Regions from separate parts of the Homo sapiens genome. Here all the other regions are linked to region 2. Evidence: promoter capture Hi-C in 16 types of primary human blood cells and fetal thymus (Javierre and others, 2016). All regions are on one chromosome and are shown on one strand. Each heading gives the region's core, a stretch centred on a gene start or on the middle of the fragment in contact. The rest is flanking DNA. Distances are from core to core; before and after follow the strand shown.

Evidence for each region. The method cuts DNA at HindIII sites, captures the fragments that hold promoters and counts their contacts. A CHiCAGO score of 5 or more calls a contact.
Region 1: the fragment with the promoter of LAX1 here is called in contact with the fragment with the promoter of MDM4 in region 2 in 1 of 17 cell types (naive CD8 T cells); the score reaches 5.4 in naive CD8 T cells.
Region 3: a contact is called between the fragment with the promoter of ATP2B4 here and the fragment with the promoter of MDM4 in region 2, in 4 of 17 cell types (naive CD8 T cells, fetal thymus, activated CD4 T cells and 1 more). The highest score is 8.1, in naive CD8 T cells.
Region 4: the fragment with the promoter of TMCC2-AS1 here is called in contact with the fragment with the promoter of MDM4 in region 2 in 1 of 17 cell types (M1 macrophages); the score reaches 8.5 in M1 macrophages.
Region 5: a contact is called between the fragment with the promoter of NUAK2 here and the fragment with the promoter of MDM4 in region 2, in 10 of 17 cell types (naive CD4 T cells, total B cells, activated CD4 T cells and 7 more). The highest score is 9.5, in naive CD4 T cells.

What each region holds. Positions count from the first base shown.
Region 1 is chr1:203,763,393-203,766,844 of GRCh38, reverse strand. LAX1 (lymphocyte transmembrane adaptor 1) reads right to left here and starts at 1,662. Exons shown (of 5, transcript NM_017773.4): 1 at 1,191-1,662. The coding sequence starts at 1,279. RefSeq lists an enhancer at 1,420-1,779. The HindIII fragment of the contact is 21,277 bases long and covers 1-3,452 here.
Region 2 is chr1:204,514,440-204,518,024 of GRCh38, reverse strand. MDM4 (MDM4 regulator of p53) reads right to left here and starts at 1,619. Exons shown (of 11, transcript NM_002393.5): 1 at 1,516-1,619. RefSeq lists enhancers at 1,347-1,626, 1,657-1,736, 1,747-1,876, 1,315-2,225, 1,166-2,365 and 1 more. The HindIII fragment of the contact is 1,369 bases long and covers 660-2,028 here.
Region 3 is chr1:203,625,111-203,628,651 of GRCh38, reverse strand. ATP2B4 (ATPase plasma membrane Ca2+ transporting 4) reads right to left here and starts at 1,820. Exons shown (of 21, transcript NM_001684.5): 1 at 1,433-1,820. RefSeq lists enhancers at 1,079-1,951, 1,952-2,826. The HindIII fragment of the contact is 13,651 bases long and covers 1-2,159 here.
Region 4 is chr1:205,235,644-205,238,833 of GRCh38, reverse strand. It overlaps TMCC2-AS1 (TMCC2 antisense RNA 1), which reads left to right and starts at 1,543. Exons shown (of 3, transcript NR_183258.1): 1 at 1,543-1,650; 2 at 1,876-2,329. The region is part of intron 1 of TMCC2 (transmembrane and coiled-coil domain family 2); the gene reads right to left. The HindIII fragment of the contact is 7,142 bases long and covers 1,308-3,190 here.
Region 5 is chr1:205,320,484-205,323,866 of GRCh38, reverse strand. It overlaps NUAK2 (NUAK family kinase 2), which reads left to right and starts at 2,122. Exons shown (of 7, transcript NM_030952.3): 1 at 2,122-2,469. The coding sequence starts at 2,239. RefSeq lists a silencer at 2,436-2,615. The HindIII fragment of the contact is 5,000 bases long and covers 1,885-3,383 here.

The sequences.
Region 1 (3,452 bases), core at 413-2,912, 750 kb after region 2:
ACAAAACAAAAAAAGTGTTGATGACTATAGTTAATAAAAATGTGTCATATTCTTGAAAATTGCTGAGAAATTTTAAGTATTCTCACCACAAAAGAAAATTGTGAAGTAATGTGTATCTTAATTAGTTTAATGTAGCTATTGTACAATGTATACATATTTCAAAACAACAGGCTATCATGATAAATATATATAATTTTGATTTGCCAATTAGAAATAAATAAAAATAAATGAAGAAATAGTTTTGGAGAGATGCTTCAGGCTTCTGATTCATTGCTCATTGATGCTCATATCTACCAGCAAGTGACATGTGTTTGCCATGATAATAACATTTATTTCCCCAAACGACTGCAATTTTATTTTATTTTTTGAGACAGAGTTTCGCTTTTGTTGCCCAGGCTGGAGTACAATGACATGACACTGCAACCTCTGTTTCCCGGGTTCAAGTGATTCTCCTGCCTCAGCCTCCTGAGTAGCTGGGACTACAGGAGCATGCTACCACTCCCGGCTAATTTTTGTATTTTTAGTAGAAACGGGGTTTCACCATGTTGGCCAGGCTGGTCTTGGCCAGGCTGGTTCAAGAGTGGGGGTGATCCGCCCCACTCGGCCTCCCAAAGTGCTGGGGTTACAGGTGTGAGCCACCGCGCCCAGTCAGCTGCCAATGTTTTTAAAGTTTCAACTGTGGATGGATTTTTAATTTTGTTTGTATGAGATTGAAAGTAGTAGCAGTAATTCATACCCATGATTAGTTCTGTAAGATTTTACGTCCTAAGGACGTATCTTTATTACATCTATCACTACATTTTTTATTCATGACAAGTTTTTGGATCTCAAAACACATCCTTGGAAAACTCAGCCTTTTGTTTCTGTCATGGTGACACCTAGGAAAGACTGATGATAGGGTTCAGGGCCTCCGAGAGGTGAGAAATCCAACCAGTCTAAGCAACTAGCTTTAAGGGCCAGTGTTATCACAGTTTTTCCTCTACCACAATATTTTCTTTCTTTCCTCAATACCTTCCTTTCCCCCTAGCACCCCTGAGCAAATGCCTCCAAGCCTAGAGTTTGGTGGTTTAGTAGACCGAGCCTGGGTGTTGAGAGGTGGCAGCACTGCTGTGTAAGAAGCTCCTAAGGGTGGACTAGGACCTTCTGCCTAAATCAGGGCAGGGTGGAGCTCACCACCCTGAGTCACTCACCTGTCCAGGCTGCGGGGAGTCACATGCAGAGTGCTGGACTCCAAGGTCCTCCCTCTGATTGTCGAAAGGGTTGGAGTGACACCATCCATTGTATCAGGAACCTTTGAGATGCTCTCTGGCTTCAGCTTCTAAGTTTCTCTTAATCATAATCAGTTAGCCAGCATGTCTACCACTTCTCCCCACCCCCGCAACAAACTCCCTATCTCGTGTCTACCTCTGAAACGTCAGGCCAAGTTGACCCAACATACAAAAGCAACAGGTTTGGTTCTACCTGGACGTGGCTAATGCCCACTGCAGGAAGTGCGATCTCATCCGGACATGGTGCTTCCAAGTGAGGTGGCTCAGGGAGAATCTGTGGCCTCTGCCTTCACGTTTCTGGTGGAAACGTGAGGGGCACAGAGGGGGAAACTGCCAAGAGGCTCAAGAGAGGCTCCGTGAGAAGCTCGTCTTCCTTCAACACCCAAAGCAGAGTGAAAAGAGCAAACCACTTTGCCAGAATGGAAACAGAGAGTCAGTCACCGGAAACGACACCACCAATGTGCTAATGAAGCACAGGGCACAGGAAACTCTGCTCAGCTCTTAATCTGCTAGAAGAAAACATATCTTCAACCCACCGTTCCTGGGTTTGCCAGGTGCTCTGTGGTCTGTGATGAGTGTGATTAAAAATGGGGCAGGGTAGTAGAGAACTTGTGATTCTTCACCCTGAGTTTCTGAGACACTTAGAGTTGTATAAGTCTTCAGATTTACAGTATTTTCTAAGCAAGTCTAAGGAGCACTGGAGGTTGCCTTTTAGAGTGAAATGCAGATCTCCGGGACCCTCTTCTGATTCAGTGGGTGGAGGCTGCAGAGGGGGCAGGCTTTGGCTATCGATGCTTTCCAGGTGAATTTGATGGAGCTTTCAGGTGATTTTGATGGAGCTCATCTGTGTTTCATGTTTTGGGAACCTCTGCTCTGGGTACTACCTTAAGAATAGAAGTTATGCTGGGTTAGCAGGACCCCTGCTCCCCCAAGGCAACCTTCCACAGCTCCTGGCTGCTGGTGATCTCCTGTTCTCAGGGCTCTTCTGAAGATCAGTCACAGTCTTACTTGTCACACACCTGTCTCAGAAGCTGAACAAGTTCATCCTTAAGAGCTACCCAAAGTGTTTGAAGATTGTTCAAAATTTATTGCTAACTCCCCTCCCTTCTTGAGCCTACTAATCTCCGGAAACACTCTTTGCATCTTGGGAGAGTCCAAAGAGAAGGGGCCACTAAGACTGTTGTAAGGATGTGAAGAACCTCTCTGATTGCACTTTCCACAAGGAAATGGATTCCCAGATGAATGGAAGGGCAGACCAGCAGTACCCTCCTAGAACCATGCCTCCCTCCCATCTCTTCCCAGTGGACATTGAGGTCCTCAGCTTTCCTGAGGTGGCAGCCCCTGGCCTGTCTGCATCCAGACTCTCACAGAGTCCCCAGGGGCTGCAGACTGGCCATGGCTGGCTTTCCAGGGAGCTTTATCATTCCAGGTCCTGGGCCCCTTCCCTCCCAGGAGCTTCACCTGGTAGGAAGCAGAAATGGCTCAGAGGCAGCTGGTGCTGGAGCTGGAACCTGGGTCTCTGCCCACTTCTCCTTTGGATCAGGTCTGAGTAGGAACTAGGACTACTCACAAGATCCATCATGCTGGTGGCAAGGACTGGGGTCCTGGGCCATTGGAACCAATAAGGGACTGTGAGAATCAGGACCTCGGAAGGCAGTACACGGAAAGGGCACATGGAACCAAACCTCAGAACCATGACTGCTAATTAAAAAAAAAAAATTTTTTTTTTTTTTAAAGAACTTTTCCATTGCATGTGATCATTTCAGGGCCTCACTTATCTTATCTACCCAATCTGCTGCAGTTAGACCAATCTTCCCTCTGGTTGTCCAATTCTCTCCTGCCCCCACATCTCAGGGAAATCACCACCTCAGAGGCAGCTGCCCAAGTTACCTGCCTCAGACTGCAGGTGAGTGCCAGGATTCCAGGCCTTGGCTGTGCCCCTCATCCTGCTCTCCTTTCCTTCCCCATGGGGCAAAATCCAATCAAACTGACAAACTAAAACAAAAAGTAGGTAGCTGAAATGATTCATCATAATAGCGGGGAAAAAACAACAGCAACAACAAAAAACACTCGTTCCTGGGAAATGGGGTGTATTTTGTTGTTGTTGTTGTTTTTTTGAGATAGAGTTTTGCTCTTGTTGCCCAGGCTGGAGTGCAATGGCATGATCTTGGCTCACCGAAACCT
Region 2 (3,585 bases), core at 370-2,869:
TCTATGACACTGATTTTTTTATTTTTTGCAGAGATGGGGCTCAGTTTGTTGCCTAGGCTGGTGTCGAACTCCGAGACTCAAGCAAACCTGCCCCCTTGGCCTCCCAAAGTGCTGGGATTAAAGGTGTGAGCCACTGGGCCTGGCCGAAATCCCATCTATTAAAAAAAAAATGTATGAGGAGAGAGAAGACTAAATCTAAACTGAGATACAGTAATACTTAACACCAAGAGGTTCCAAGTATCTTTGACAGATACTAGTTCCACGTGCCAACAGCACAGAGCTGCAGCATTTTCTCCGGGTGTTGCTTTTAAACTGTGGTTTTCGGCCGGGCACGGTGGCTCACGCCTGTAATCCCAACACTTTCGGAGGCCGAGGTGGGCGGATCACCTGAGGTCTGGAGTTCGAGAACAGCCTGGCCAACCTGGTGAAACCTCATCTCTAATAAAACACAAAATTAGCCAGGCGTGGTGGCGCACACCTGTAATCCCAGCGACCCGGGAGGCTGAGGCAGAAGAATCACTTGAACCCGTGAGGCAGAAGTTGCAGTGAGCCAAGATCGCGCCACTGCACGCCAGCCTGGGCAAAAAGAGCGAAACTCCACTCAAAAAAAACAAAAACAAAACAAAAACACAACCAAAAAAACCTGTGGTTTTCAAGCTTTAAGGTATACAAAAATCACTGGGAGGTGTGCTCATTAAAATATATTTCTCTGAGCCCCATCTCGATACTGTCTGTAGGTTTCAGTGTGGCCCCAAAACGAACATTTTTTCTTTTTTTTTTTTTGAGACGGAATCTCCCTCTGTAGCCCAAGCTGGAGTGCAGTGGCGCGATCTCGACTCACTGCAACCCCCGCCCACGGATTCAAGTGATTCTCCTGCCTCAGCCTCCCGAGTAGCTAGGATTACAGGCATGCGCCACCACACACATCTAATATTTTTGTATTTTTACTAGAGACGGGGTTTCACCAGGTTGGCCAGGTTGGTCTCGAACTCCTGTCCTCAGGTAGATCCACCCACCTCGGCCTCCTGAAGTGCTGGGATTACAGGCGTGAGCCACCGCGCCAAGCCAAAACAAGCATTTTCAAACAAGCACTCAAGTGCCTCTAAGGTAGACTGTCCGCAGACCTAAAAACTAACTTAAAAACTTAAGACACGTCAATGTCATTCTACCCGGTTCCCTCTCTCCCACCTCCTTTCTCCAAATTGCCTCAACAGTCCTCAAATGTTGTGTCCAGTTAAACTCAATCCAACTACGTCGACTTTAGGTTTGTCACCTGTTGGCCAAAGTTACTTCACGTCACCCCACCTCCACTTTTATCTTCCGCGAGCCCTCATCCCACAACTCTTCCCCTCCCCCCGAGCCCTTCTTCCGCCTGGCGCGGCCTTCCCCACGCCGCCCGACCCACCTCTCAAGCTCCTCCCGCCCGCTACCCGCACAACTGGCGGTACGGCCGCCTGCTCCTCACTCTCCAGCTCCCGCTCCCGGCACCCCGCCGACGAAGGCCAAGAGCCACACCTTACGGCAGCTCCATGAGTCGCTCCCCCGCCGAGCCCGGGTGGGGGGAGGGGTGGCAGTCACAGATCCTAGGGCCTCGGCAGCATTTTGAAATGGCGAGTAATGAAGCCGCAACTTCCGGCCTCCCACACGGCCTCACACGAGGGCTTCCGGTGAGGCCTCCGGAAACCATAGATGGAGCAATGGGAGGACTAGAGAGCTAGAAAGGCTGAGCTCACTACCATAGAGTAGATCCTAGTCCGGGGAGAGAGTCGTGGGGCCCGAACGGTTGAAAGTCGTCAGATTTGAAGAGATAATAAGTGAGGGACTTGCAGGGTCTTGTGATATTTACAGACGTGTATTAGGAGATCAGAAAACAGAGAAGAGGAAGAGCTAAGGTCATAATCACAGGCTGCCTTCAGCTCTTCGGAAAAACTACGCTTCCTCTGCCATTCCCCAGTCCTCACCCTTACTCCCCAAGGGTGGTAGGGAAGGGAAACGGAGCGATGGCGGCACTAGGGTGGCAAGGAAGCTTGAAGCCATGTCAAATAAATAGTTGAAAGCACCAGCCGCTGTGGCTCACGCCTGTAATCCCAGCACTTTGGGAGGCCTAAGGCAGGCGGATCACCTGAGGTCAGGAGTTCGAGACCAGTCTGACCAATATGGTGAAACCCTGTTTCTACTAAAAATACAAAATTAGTCGGGTGTGGTGGCGCATGCCTGTAATCCCAGCTACTCAGGAGAATCGTTTGAACTTGGGAGGCGGAGGTTGCAGTGAGCCGAGATAGCGCCATTCCAGCCTGGGCAACAAGAGCGAAACTCCTCAAAAAAAAAAAAAAAAAAGAAAAAGAAATAGTTGAAGGCTCAAGGGAGTTTTTAACCTGCATATAAACGAGGGAGGCCGGGCGCAGTGGCTCTCCCCTGTAATCCCAGCGCACTTTGGGAGGCCGAGGCGGGCGGATCACCTGAGGTCAGCAGTTCGAGACCATCCTGCCCAACATGGCGAAACCCCCGTTTCTACTAAAAATACAAAAAATTAGCGGGGCATGGTGGCGGTCACCTGTAATCCCAGCTACTTAGGAGGCCGAGGCAGGAGAATCGTTTGAACCCGGGTGGCGGAGGTTGCAGTGAGCCGAGATAGCGCCATTGCACTCCAGCCTGGGCGACAAGAGCGAAACTGCATCTCAAAAAAAAAAAAAAAAAAAAAGAGGGAAAGGGTTGAGCATAGAAATTGGAAGCTGTCTTCAAATAACTGAATAGTATAATATTGGAAATAACGGAGCCTTATTCTCTTCTCCAAAGTGCAGAACTAAAACCAATAGAAATTACAAGGCAGTATTTTTAAGCTCAGAAAATCCTCTAACATTTAGAGTTGTTCTGAAATAAATGAAATTAGGTATTTGGGGGAAGTAATGTCATTTGAAGACAGCCTGCCTGAGAGGTTTGTTGAAAGCTCTTCTATATTAGGAAACATTAAAACTGGCTGTGTAACCCAAGAAAGCTCCATCTCAGTGTTCTTTGCACCTGTCTTTTAGCATTTACCACGTATTTTTTTTTTAGTTATTTGTGTATATACCATTCTTATCTCTCCCAATAAGCAACAACAAAACCTGGCTCCCAATGCTAGATACAGACCCATGCAAAAGAACACAGGGCAGTAACCTTCCTTAAATTTGTACATTCCGCTTTGTTCTACTTCTAGCATAACCTCCTGCATAGCTGGGAGATCCAGGGTTCCATTAAGGAGCTGAAGAATTAACTTCTTTTTCATAGAAATCTGCAACCACCTCACTCACAAAAAAAAAAAAAAAAAGGTCAAGGGTGCTTTTTTAGGTGAACCACTGTCAACTATTTCCCCTGTCCTTTTGTGCAATTAGTATTTTTTAAAACTTTCAACAGGAATTTTTTTTTTGTAACTTTTAAATAGCATCTGGTTAGTTTGGATCCTTTCCTAATGTCTCCTGGAGCCTTGGAATATGATCTGTTCATGCAATTCAGTTTGTGTGAGATCAACAGGTATTTGTTGAGGCCAGGTGCAGTGGCTCACACCTGTAATCCCAACCCTTTGGGAGGCCAAGGTGGGAGGATCGT
Region 3 (3,541 bases), core at 571-3,070, 890 kb after region 2:
TGGGGAGGGGCTTAAGGAGCAGGGCCAGGGTCTCTAGACTCCCTGCCAGACTCCTCACACAGAGGAGGGGGGCGCTGCAGAATGGGATTTTGTTTCCCTTCCCTCCCCCACTCCTTTCCCCTCTCCACAGGGGCCTCAGTTGAGTACCGGCCTATTTCTTCATCTGACATTCCCCCTGCCCGGCCAGCAGGCGCCGGCATCACGTCTGCAAGTTATTGTTAAGTCCGGCAGGAATGCCCAGGAGGGACGTGCCTCTGGCAGCAGAGTGCCCACTCCCCTCCCAAGATGCGGCTGGCCACTCCTGCACCCTCCACACCCAGTTGGAGAAGAGCGGCGGGTACCCTCAGGGAGGTGGAGGAGTGTAAGAGGCCAGACTCGACTCGGGGAAGGATGCCAGCAGCCCCCTCTACCAAGAGCGAGCCAAGTATGTAAAAGAAAGAGAGAAGGGAGAGCAGGAAGGACAATCCCAGTCTTAATTCCTAGCTCTTCAGCAAGCCAAGGCAGTGGCCCGAGACGCTCAGGGATCCTTCCACAGATGCCTGTGGCCCACCCCATCTGCCAAACACTCACCAGCCCCACAGTGTCCAGCCTCGACATCGGAAACTTTTCAATTCACCCTTCTCCTTCCTCCCCTTTGGGACCAGAGATGTGTGGGGCGGTGCCCTCGGAGACACTCATACAGTTGGTTCTGGACGCTCACACACACTCAAACAACAGCGGTACGAGGTAACTCCCAGCTTTTTCCACAGCTAATTATACATGTGAAAGTCTGAGGATGTTTTGCAAGCAGCACAGAGAAACTGCTGAGGTTTCTCTGCAAAGCTAAAGAAATTTAATTCGTGCACTCTCCTTCCCCACTCCTGCCAACTTCTCCCAGCCCACCTCCACCCCATGGCCCCAAAGTGCCCCTCTCCTAGTTCCCGCTGCAGCCCCTCTTTCTGCTGAAGATTTCTTTGGTTCCTTTTTTTTTTTTTTTTCCATCTCTCTTTTGGGCTTTCGAGAAAGGGAACAGACACGGAAAATATTTTTGCAACAGTTTTCCATCCTGCGTCTCATTCCCAAGCCAAGGGGGGAAGGGGAGGGCAGGAACGGAATGGGTTGAGGGAGGGGAGATAAATATTTTTTCCAAGAGCTCAATTTTGGTGTCAAAAAGAGAACCCTCCATTACCCTACCCCATAGCCCAGGAATGACAAGAACTAGGAAAAGAGAGATAAATCACTTGTTCGACTATATGGTTTCTCAGAACTGATAATAGGTAAAACAGTATTTGACAAATCTGTGCACACACACATATTTTAAAAAAAATCCTCCAAACCCAGTCGCATGAAATATTCTAGAAAGAGGAAAATCGGGGAGTTTTAGAAGCCATTGAGAGAAAAGAAAGAAACAAAGTTTGCAAATCACAAGTCAATTCATTCTCTGCAAGCCTACCTCTCTTTCTAGCAAAGATCCAGGTTTCTTCAGGCGGGACTCTCCCTCCGGGTTTCCATGGATGAGGGTAGGGTGGGGTGACCACCCACCAGTCTCCCCAGTGTGGCAACCAAGCTAGAGACGCTGGCTTTGCTCTCTTGCCTTTCTGGCTAAGGCCGGGGAGTGGGCTGGGTCTCCTCCCCCTGCCCCTCCAATGGGAAGGACCTCTCAGGTTCCTGAAAGAAAAAGGGTGCAGGAGAGCTGGGCGGGTGTCTCTGATCTTGCTCTCTTCGGAGGGATGGTGCCCCACGAAGTTCGTGCCCCCCCTCCCAGCCCCCAGCTTTGGACGATCTCAACAGCAGAGCTTTCTTAAGAAAATGCTTGTCATGGCAACAGCTCTAGCTAACTCGGGCCAGACTCTTGCTCACCAGCTCTCCCCAAGCAGTGCGGGAAGAGAGAGGGGAGGAGCAGGAGCTGGAACAGAGGTGGGACTTGGCGCGAGGCCAAACCATTACTCTACTGTTAAGGTGGCCCGATTCTTGCGGTTACTTCCTGGTTCGTCTTAAGGGGGAATGGGAAAAGAAAGGGAAGCAATCCTCTCCCCTGTCGGCTTTCTTCCCCGCCCTTGCTCTCACTTGTTGAATAGAAAGCTGAGTAGGGGTGGAGGAGGGGTGAGGGTGGAGGTGGGGAGTGGATGTGGGTGGCGGTATTCAACGGTTGCTGGGCGGAGGGGAAAAAAAAGGAAGCTTGGGCAGGCGGCTGGCTTCCTGCAGCTCCTACGGGCCTCTCAACCCCTTACTCACTTAGATCCAGGACCCAGAAACCCGAGGTGTCTGTGGACACTTGTATGTCCCCTCCTACCTTCCTGCTCCTGTCTGAATAGGGGGTTCCTTGGAGAAGGAGAATAAATTGTTTTGTAAACACACACACACACACACACACACACACACACACACACACACACACACCCGTCCTCCCCTACACCTTATATACAGGTCACATTTTGTTCCCTCTTGTCCCTGTACCCACCAGAGGTATACTGACAGTGCATGAAAATAGCTGCTTACTTTTGAGTCCTGCTATGCGTGGGCTATGACACCAAAAGCTTTGTCTATATGGTATCGTTTCTAGTCCTCATTTAATCTTGAAAGGTACTTATTATTAACCTCATTTCCTAGTTGAGGGAATTGAAGATTGAGTGTCTGGCCCAAGGTTATACATCCGGCTAATGACAGAGCCAACGATTCAAGACCAAGTCAGACAGACTCCAAAGCCCGAGTACTTTCCTGTACTTTGTATCATACTCCGGCACATATTTCCGTTTTAATTTGCACACACTCAGACATCCATGCACACTTATACACAGCCTGTAAACAGTTAATCACACCCCCATACCCACACACCCACTAGCATTGTGCAACAGTGCCACCCATAGATTTTGCATAGAACTTTATGGCTTTCAAGCACAAACATGCACCATCAGCTGGTTCACACAACATATCTTCATTGACTGACAGATTCCCACACCTACCTCAGCAAACACACTCATGTTTATATGCTTATGGAAGGCACATTGACATATGTCTCACAGGTTATAGCTATGAGCTATGCTGTGAAGAAGGTGACTGGCCACTACTTCCCAACCTTTTAAACAGAGGGTTGGGAAAAGGCCTCTTTGATCCTATCATTCTAACCCAACAGCTCACACCACCCCCTGTCCTTCTTTGCTGTCATCTCTGCCCCCAAGAAGCAGAGCCACATGTGCATGGAGAAACAGGGTTGTGAAACGGGGTCCAGTTTCCCCCGTGTCCAACTAGCACCCTTCCCAATGTTCTCTCATTTGGGTCCTCTTTTTCCTCTTCATTTTCTTACCCTGCTATTTCTTTTTTCTTTATGGTTTTTTTTTTTTTTTTTGAGACGGAGTCTTGCTCTGTTGCCCAGGCTGGAGTGCAGTGGCGTGATCTCGGCTCACTGCAAGCTCCGCCTCCGGGGTTCACGCCATTCTCCTGCCTCAGCCTCCCGAGTAGCTGGGACTACAGGCCCCTGCCACCACGCCCGGCTAATTTTGTTTTTGTATTTTTAGTAGAGACGGGGTTTCACCATGTTAGCCAGAATGGTCTCGATCTCCTG
Region 4 (3,190 bases), core at 294-2,793, 720 kb before region 2:
GATGAAGAAACGGAGGCACAGCATAGCTAAGTGGCTCATCCAAGCCACACAGAGAAACCCCCGACTTCTAATTGAATTTACCTTCATGGGCCCATACACTGATTTCAAGACTTAAGATTTAAAGTAGATAGGGTATTTGCATGTGTCCCAGAATAGTATCAGAGGCAGGCGCCAAACAAAAATGCCTGGGTCAAGGGTTGTTAGGTCCCCTGAACTGCTGTTGTGACCTGCCCATCCCATGTTATGGGACAAGACCCTCAACTATAAAGTCTTTACTTCCCACCTCCCTGAGCTGTCCTGCAGCTGAAGGAAACCTAGGGAAAGTGACCAGGAGACCCCAGGACCTTTGTCCCAGCAGACCGAGGAATCTATTAAAGTCTGAGGCAGGCAGGAGGGAAATAACAAAAAGGAAGTCAAAGAACAAGGTGCAGAGAGAGGAGATTACTCCAAATGAAGGGGTTTTTCCTCACTGATAAGGTGCGAGGCGGGAACAGCAAAGTGACGCAAGGGCTGGGCCGCTTCTGCATGTGGGTGTCAGGGAGGAGATGGTTAAGGAGTTTTGACATAACACAGTAAGTGTTTTAAAAAAAAAAAACTCAGCACATACACATAACCAGCTACAAGTTTCAGAAGTGAGGAAAACCATGGTGACTAGCTTAAGGGAACTTAGCCGCCAACGCAGCAGAAAGCACCACCTGCTCTGACTAACAGGTTCCAGCTCCTAAAATGTCACTTGCTTTTCCACATTGACTTTTGCTTTTCCCTGGCTGCCAGAAACCATTTTGGTGGCCAAATGAAGCCATGCATTAGAGAGCTGAGATGCTTCAGAGTTAGAGGTGGCAAACAAACAGGGCTTTCATGATCTGTAAGACCGAAGCAAGAAGTGCCGTCCCCAGAACTGGCCATAAGGTAGTCAGAAAGGAGAGCCTCCCAGGGTGAGGTGCCCCGGGGAAGGAAGTGAGGGGAGTTGGCTGTCCCTCCCCTGGAACTATCTGAAAGGGCAGGAAGAGCCCCATCTCCTTGGGTGGCACTGTCCTTTCAGGAAAAAAGGGAGGACTAGATGGCTTCTGAAAGATCCTTCCTGAGAAGGCTGTGGTTTCTGAACAGTTGGGCTTCATCCGTCTTTCTCCCTGGGTGTGGGTCCCCCAAAGGGGAAGTTTGCTCCAAAATCTGCAAACACAGCTGCATGAATACAAAACTAAAATGCCTTGGGGTACAGTGTCATTGGCACCATCTGGTTAAAAATGACCAAAAGTGGTTTCTAATTTTTACAGGTACGTGTGTTCTCAACAAATCCCAGGAAAGCTTAAAGTCACACTAATCTATAGCTAATTATCCCACCTGGCAGCTGACTGCATAGCCCTTCCTCCTACCTGGGTTTGAAACTCCTTCCGCCCTACCAACAGTTTGGCTGTGAGGGTTCAGTGGGGTGACTGGGTCACCCTGAGCCTTTGCCAGCCTAGGTCGCCAACATTCCTCTATTTATAGGGTCTCTATGGAAACAGGGCCAGCATTAGAGAACTAATCACTGTAAAAACCCACAGAGTTCTACTCTTAGGATCCAAAGTGGATTGAAGAAGTCTCCAATTGCCCTTAAGAAGCTCTGGGTGGGGAGCCTGAGTGGGAGCAGGAGAGGAACCATTACCCCAGGTTTGGCGCTGATGATCACAGTGGTGTACAGTAGGCAGCTGCAACTGTTCAGGCCCACTTGGAGTTTCTACTGGAAACCCAGTGATGAAAGATTTTTGGAATCATTTATTTATTCCCCAGCCTCACAGATGAAATTTTAAAAAAAAAACTCAACTCATGGGCACACGGGCAAAAAATTCCCCCATTCTCAATTTTATTTTGATTCCTCTTTCCTTTATTGCTTAGAGAATTCAGCCTGGAGCCAAAGCAAGTGGGAAAAGGTCACCTCATCCACCATGTCTTTAGGCAGAACTGATTCAGCACACACCAACATAGAAGACTTTTATTAAAGTTCCCAGCATGGCGTGCCCTCTCTCTGCCTCTTTGCATCCTACCCATCCTTCACCACCTCGCCACTCCATAAAGCCCTCTCTGATCACACCAGTCTGCAGCGATCTCGCCCTGCTCTGAACACATAAGCGCTCATTATCTGCACCACTCATTTTGCAATTAATCGTGTACTGCCTTGTGACATCGCTTCTAGTGCTTTGTCTGACTGTTATCCAACTTCTCACCTGCTGACGGATGGAACCCTTGATGACAATATGAGTGACTGGACAGCAGGAGCTACAGCTCCTACATCTCTGTGTCCCTAACATTACCTGGCAGAGGCCTCAACACCAACATGGAAGACAGCTAGGTAAATTATTTGTTCATTTATTTTCTGAGCAGCCACTATCCAAGTCTCTACAAATCCATCTTACAAAGGTGATTTTAATCCTTAGATGACTACCTTTTCCAAAGACATAACCTTTCACAAAGATTTCAAATGCTCCAACAGCCTTTTCTTGTGTCTAACTCAGATTTCTCCTGCTGCAGTTTAAACCCTCTTCTCACTCTATTATCTTAGTAACCGCCAAGATTGAGTTGGCTTGGAAGGAGATGAACACAGACCAAGGAGCCAGAATGTATGTGATGTCTTCACAAATGGCTTAGGGAGGGCTTGGGAGGGGGCTCATGTCCTTACAGCCAGATTTGTTTTCCCTGGTGGACATCACTCAGTTAACCTGGCTGGAATAAGGAAGCCTTTAGTCATTTGGTTTAAAAATAACTGTTCTTTTTTTTTTTTTTTTTTTGAGACAGAGTCCTGCTGTGTCGCCTAGGCTGGAGTGTAATGGCGTGATCTCCGTTCACTGCAACCTTTGCCTGCCGGGTTCAAGCAAATCTCCTGCCTCAGCCTCCCGAGCAGCTAGGACTATACGGGCACACCACCATGCCTGGCTAATTTTTTGTATTTTTAGTAGAGACGGGGTTTCACCATGCTGGCCAGGCTGGTCTCGAACTCCTGACCTCGTGACCCCCCTGCCTCGGCCTCCCAAAGTGCTGGGATTACAGGCGTGAGCCACCGCGCCCAGCCAAATAACTGTTTTTCTAGCACAGTCACAAAACATACCTGTTATCCCCCAACAGCTTTGTTCTAACTTCTTACACGAAGAGAGACTTAAGTGTTTGGCTGACAAAGGTGGACCCTGTCCAGCTATGGCCTCATTCCAAAAATGTA
Region 5 (3,383 bases), core at 873-3,372, 810 kb before region 2:
CTTATGTTATCCATACTTCCTTTTGAGAATTCTAATCATCTGGATGAGCCCCCAGGAATAGAAGCAGATTTCAGAGGGGAAAGGAGATAGCAAGTCAAGGCAACTATCTCTGGGCCTCATCCTATTTGCACAGAAAACCCACAGCAAAAGGGGAGGCTGGTGGAGGGAAGAATGCCAAACCAGCTGCCACCTCCTGTGGCCCTCCAAATTTGGGAGCGATACATTGGTTTCCTGTGTAAGATGGATCCTCTCCAGTCACAAAGGAGATAAAGAGCTCCATGGAGGGATGGAGACATCTGTAACTCACACTAGAAAAATAATCAAAGGATCAGTGGAAGTAGAAAAGTGGGCAGCCACTGGGGGTGGGTCCTTCTCCATCCTCAGCATGCCCTGGATACACAGGGGAGGCACCATCCTCCTGAAGGCCTGAGGGGAAGGCTGGCTCTCCAGCATAGCTAGAATCCATCCAGGGCCCTAAACTGGCTGGCAGAAGGGGTTTCCCTCAGGGAAGAGGATCCAGGTCTATTGTCCTCTATTCTCTTCCTCAGGACCAGGGTCTAAATCCCGCCACTTTATTACCAGTTGTGTGGCCTTGGACAGAATAATACTCATTTCACAGGATTAGGTTATCAAGATGGCCAAAGGGGAAATGTTCCCTTTCTGCCATTTAAAGCAAGAAGGAAAACCTATGGCCATTCTCATTTCACTGTAAATGAGCACTCAGAGTGGAGATTCTGGACCTAGCAACTCCAGGCCTCAAAAACTAAGTCAAGCTGGGCGCAGTGGCTCACGCTTGTAATCCCAGTACTTTGGGAGGCCGAGGCGGGCGGATCACGAGGTCAGGAGATCAAGACCATGGTGAAACCCTGTCTCTACTAAAAATACAAAAAATTAGCCGGGCGTGGTGGCGGGCGCCTGTAGTCCCAGCTACTCGGAGAGGCTGAGGCAGGAGAATGGCGTGAACCCGGGAGGCGGAGCTTGCAGTGAGCAGAGATCGCACCACTGCACTCCAGCCTGGGCGACAGAGGGAGACTCCGTCTCAAGTCAAACCTCATAACCTACCACCAGTGCTCCTGGCACCAAAATCACAAGAAAACCTTGGGTGGAGCAACCATTTTCAGACTTAGGGACACAGGTTAGATAGTCGGCATGTAAAAATGTTAAATAAATATGTATCCCTTCGGGTTCTCTCCACCTCCAGCCGACACATCCTAAATAAATTCCACTAAGTGGTTGAGGGAATCTACTAAACCTTAGAAGCCCTCTTTTTTTTTGAAACGGAGCCTCACTTTGTTGCCCAGGCTGGAGTGCAGTGGCGCCATCTTGATTCACTGAAACCTCTGCCTCCTGGGTTCAAGCGATTCTTCTGCCTCAGCCTCCAGAGTAGCTGGGATTACAAGCGCGCACCACCACGCCCGGCTAATTTTGTATCTTTAGTGGAGATGGGATTTCGTCATGTTGGCTAGGTTGGTCTTGAACTCCTGGACCTCAAGCGATTCGCCTAAGAAGCCCTCTTTGAGGAAGAAGGAAGAAGTTTCCAGGGCCATTGGATTCCAATATCCAAGTAAGGTTGATCTAACTGAAGACAAGTGAACTCGAACCATAGGACAGCTCTGCACTAACCCTCCCACTAGGCTGGATTCTGCCTCTGTTCCATCCCAGCTCCCTTTCTCCTTTATGGACTCAATGAAGTGGTCAAGCAATTATAGATTTTGGCTTGGGACAAGCAAATTACTCAGGATGAAGAAATACTTTGGTGACCTTTAGTGCCCTCAGATCGCCCCTTGCCAACTGAGAACAGAGTACAATAAAACAACAGGGCATTAAGCAGGACCAAGCGCCACTCAGAGGCAAGTGCAGCTCCAAGGGCCCTCAGAGTAAGCTTCTGGGCCTCAGGCGGCCTTCGCTGGAATCCCCTAGTCCCCATTCCTGGTGGGCGGGTTCCATTGACACCTTTCCCGGCCACGCCGAGGGGGAGGAGGCGGGGCCTGGAGCCCCGGAGAGCCAATGTGGACGGCCGTGGTCACGCGCCGCCGTCGAGCAGGCCAATGGGCGCCGGGGGGCGTGTCCAGGGCCTCGGGCTCAGGGCGTTTATAACAACTTGGAATGCTGTGCTTTACTGCGCGCTCTGGTACTGCTGTGGCTCCCCGTCCTGGTGCGGGACCTGTGCCCCGCGCTTCAGCCCTCCCCGCACAGCCTACTGATTCCCCTGCCGCCCTTGCTCACCTCCTGCTCGCCATGGAGTCGCTGGTTTTCGCGCGGCGCTCCGGCCCCACTCCCTCGGCCGCAGAGCTAGCCCGGCCGCTGGCGGAAGGGCTGATCAAGTCGCCCAAGCCCCTAATGAAGAAGCAGGCGGTGAAGCGGCACCACCACAAGCACAACCTGCGGCACCGCTACGAGTTCCTGGAGACCCTGGGCAAAGGCACCTACGGGAAGGTGAAGAAGGCGCGGGAGAGCTCGGGGCGCCTGGTGAGTGCGGCTCCCTCTCGCGGCGCGGGGCGGGCTCCGGCTTGGCCGCCGGCAGGGAGCGGAGGAGGGCGGGCGGCGGCTCGCTCGTTGCTCGGCGGAGAGGCCAGCGTGGTCTTTACCGCGCTGAGCTTGCGGGGCTACTGCGGGGTGTCCCTGGCAGATGTGTCAGTCCGTGATTGCAGGGACAGTGGTCGCAAACTTGCGAACCCCAGCCAGCAACACCGTACTGCTGTGATGATTGCCAAATAAAAGGGAGGCTATGGATAGTTGGCGCGGAAAAACGAATCGTGTCGTGTCCTGGGATAAGATGGATGGGACTTAAGTTGAGTTTTGCTGGGAAAAGACTGTTCAATAGAGTGCAATGGAAAGAGGAAGTAGAAGGCACCCCATCTTAATAGGTATTTGGTAAATATGTGTGTGGTTGAATGAATGGATGAGGTGTGGATTTCCCCAACTCCAAGAATCTGGCAACCCAGCACACTGGAGCTCTGGCACGGGGTGGGTTTTGACATTTAGGTCCTTTCCAGCTCTAAAATTTAGTTGAAATTTCATTATGATGAGTTTTTGATTCTGGAAAATGTGAAACCAGGTCCACTGTACCAGAGACACCTTTCGGTTTGGGGGCCTTTTCAAGAACATGCCCTGTTACTTTGGTGCGAGCGTAGGAGTCTAGCAGTCTGTGTGACCTTGGGCAATTTCCTTCATCTCTGTACTTTGTTTCCCCTTTTGCAGAACTGTAGAAAACACAGCCTGCCTCACAAGCTGCTGTGAGGATTGAATAAGATCGAAATATGAACTTATATTGCTCCTAACACATAGAACTTGCGGTGAGATAGCCGGGCGCGGTGGCTCACGCCTGTAATCCCAGCACTGTGGGAGGCCGAGGCGGGCGGATCGTGAGGTCAGGAGATCGA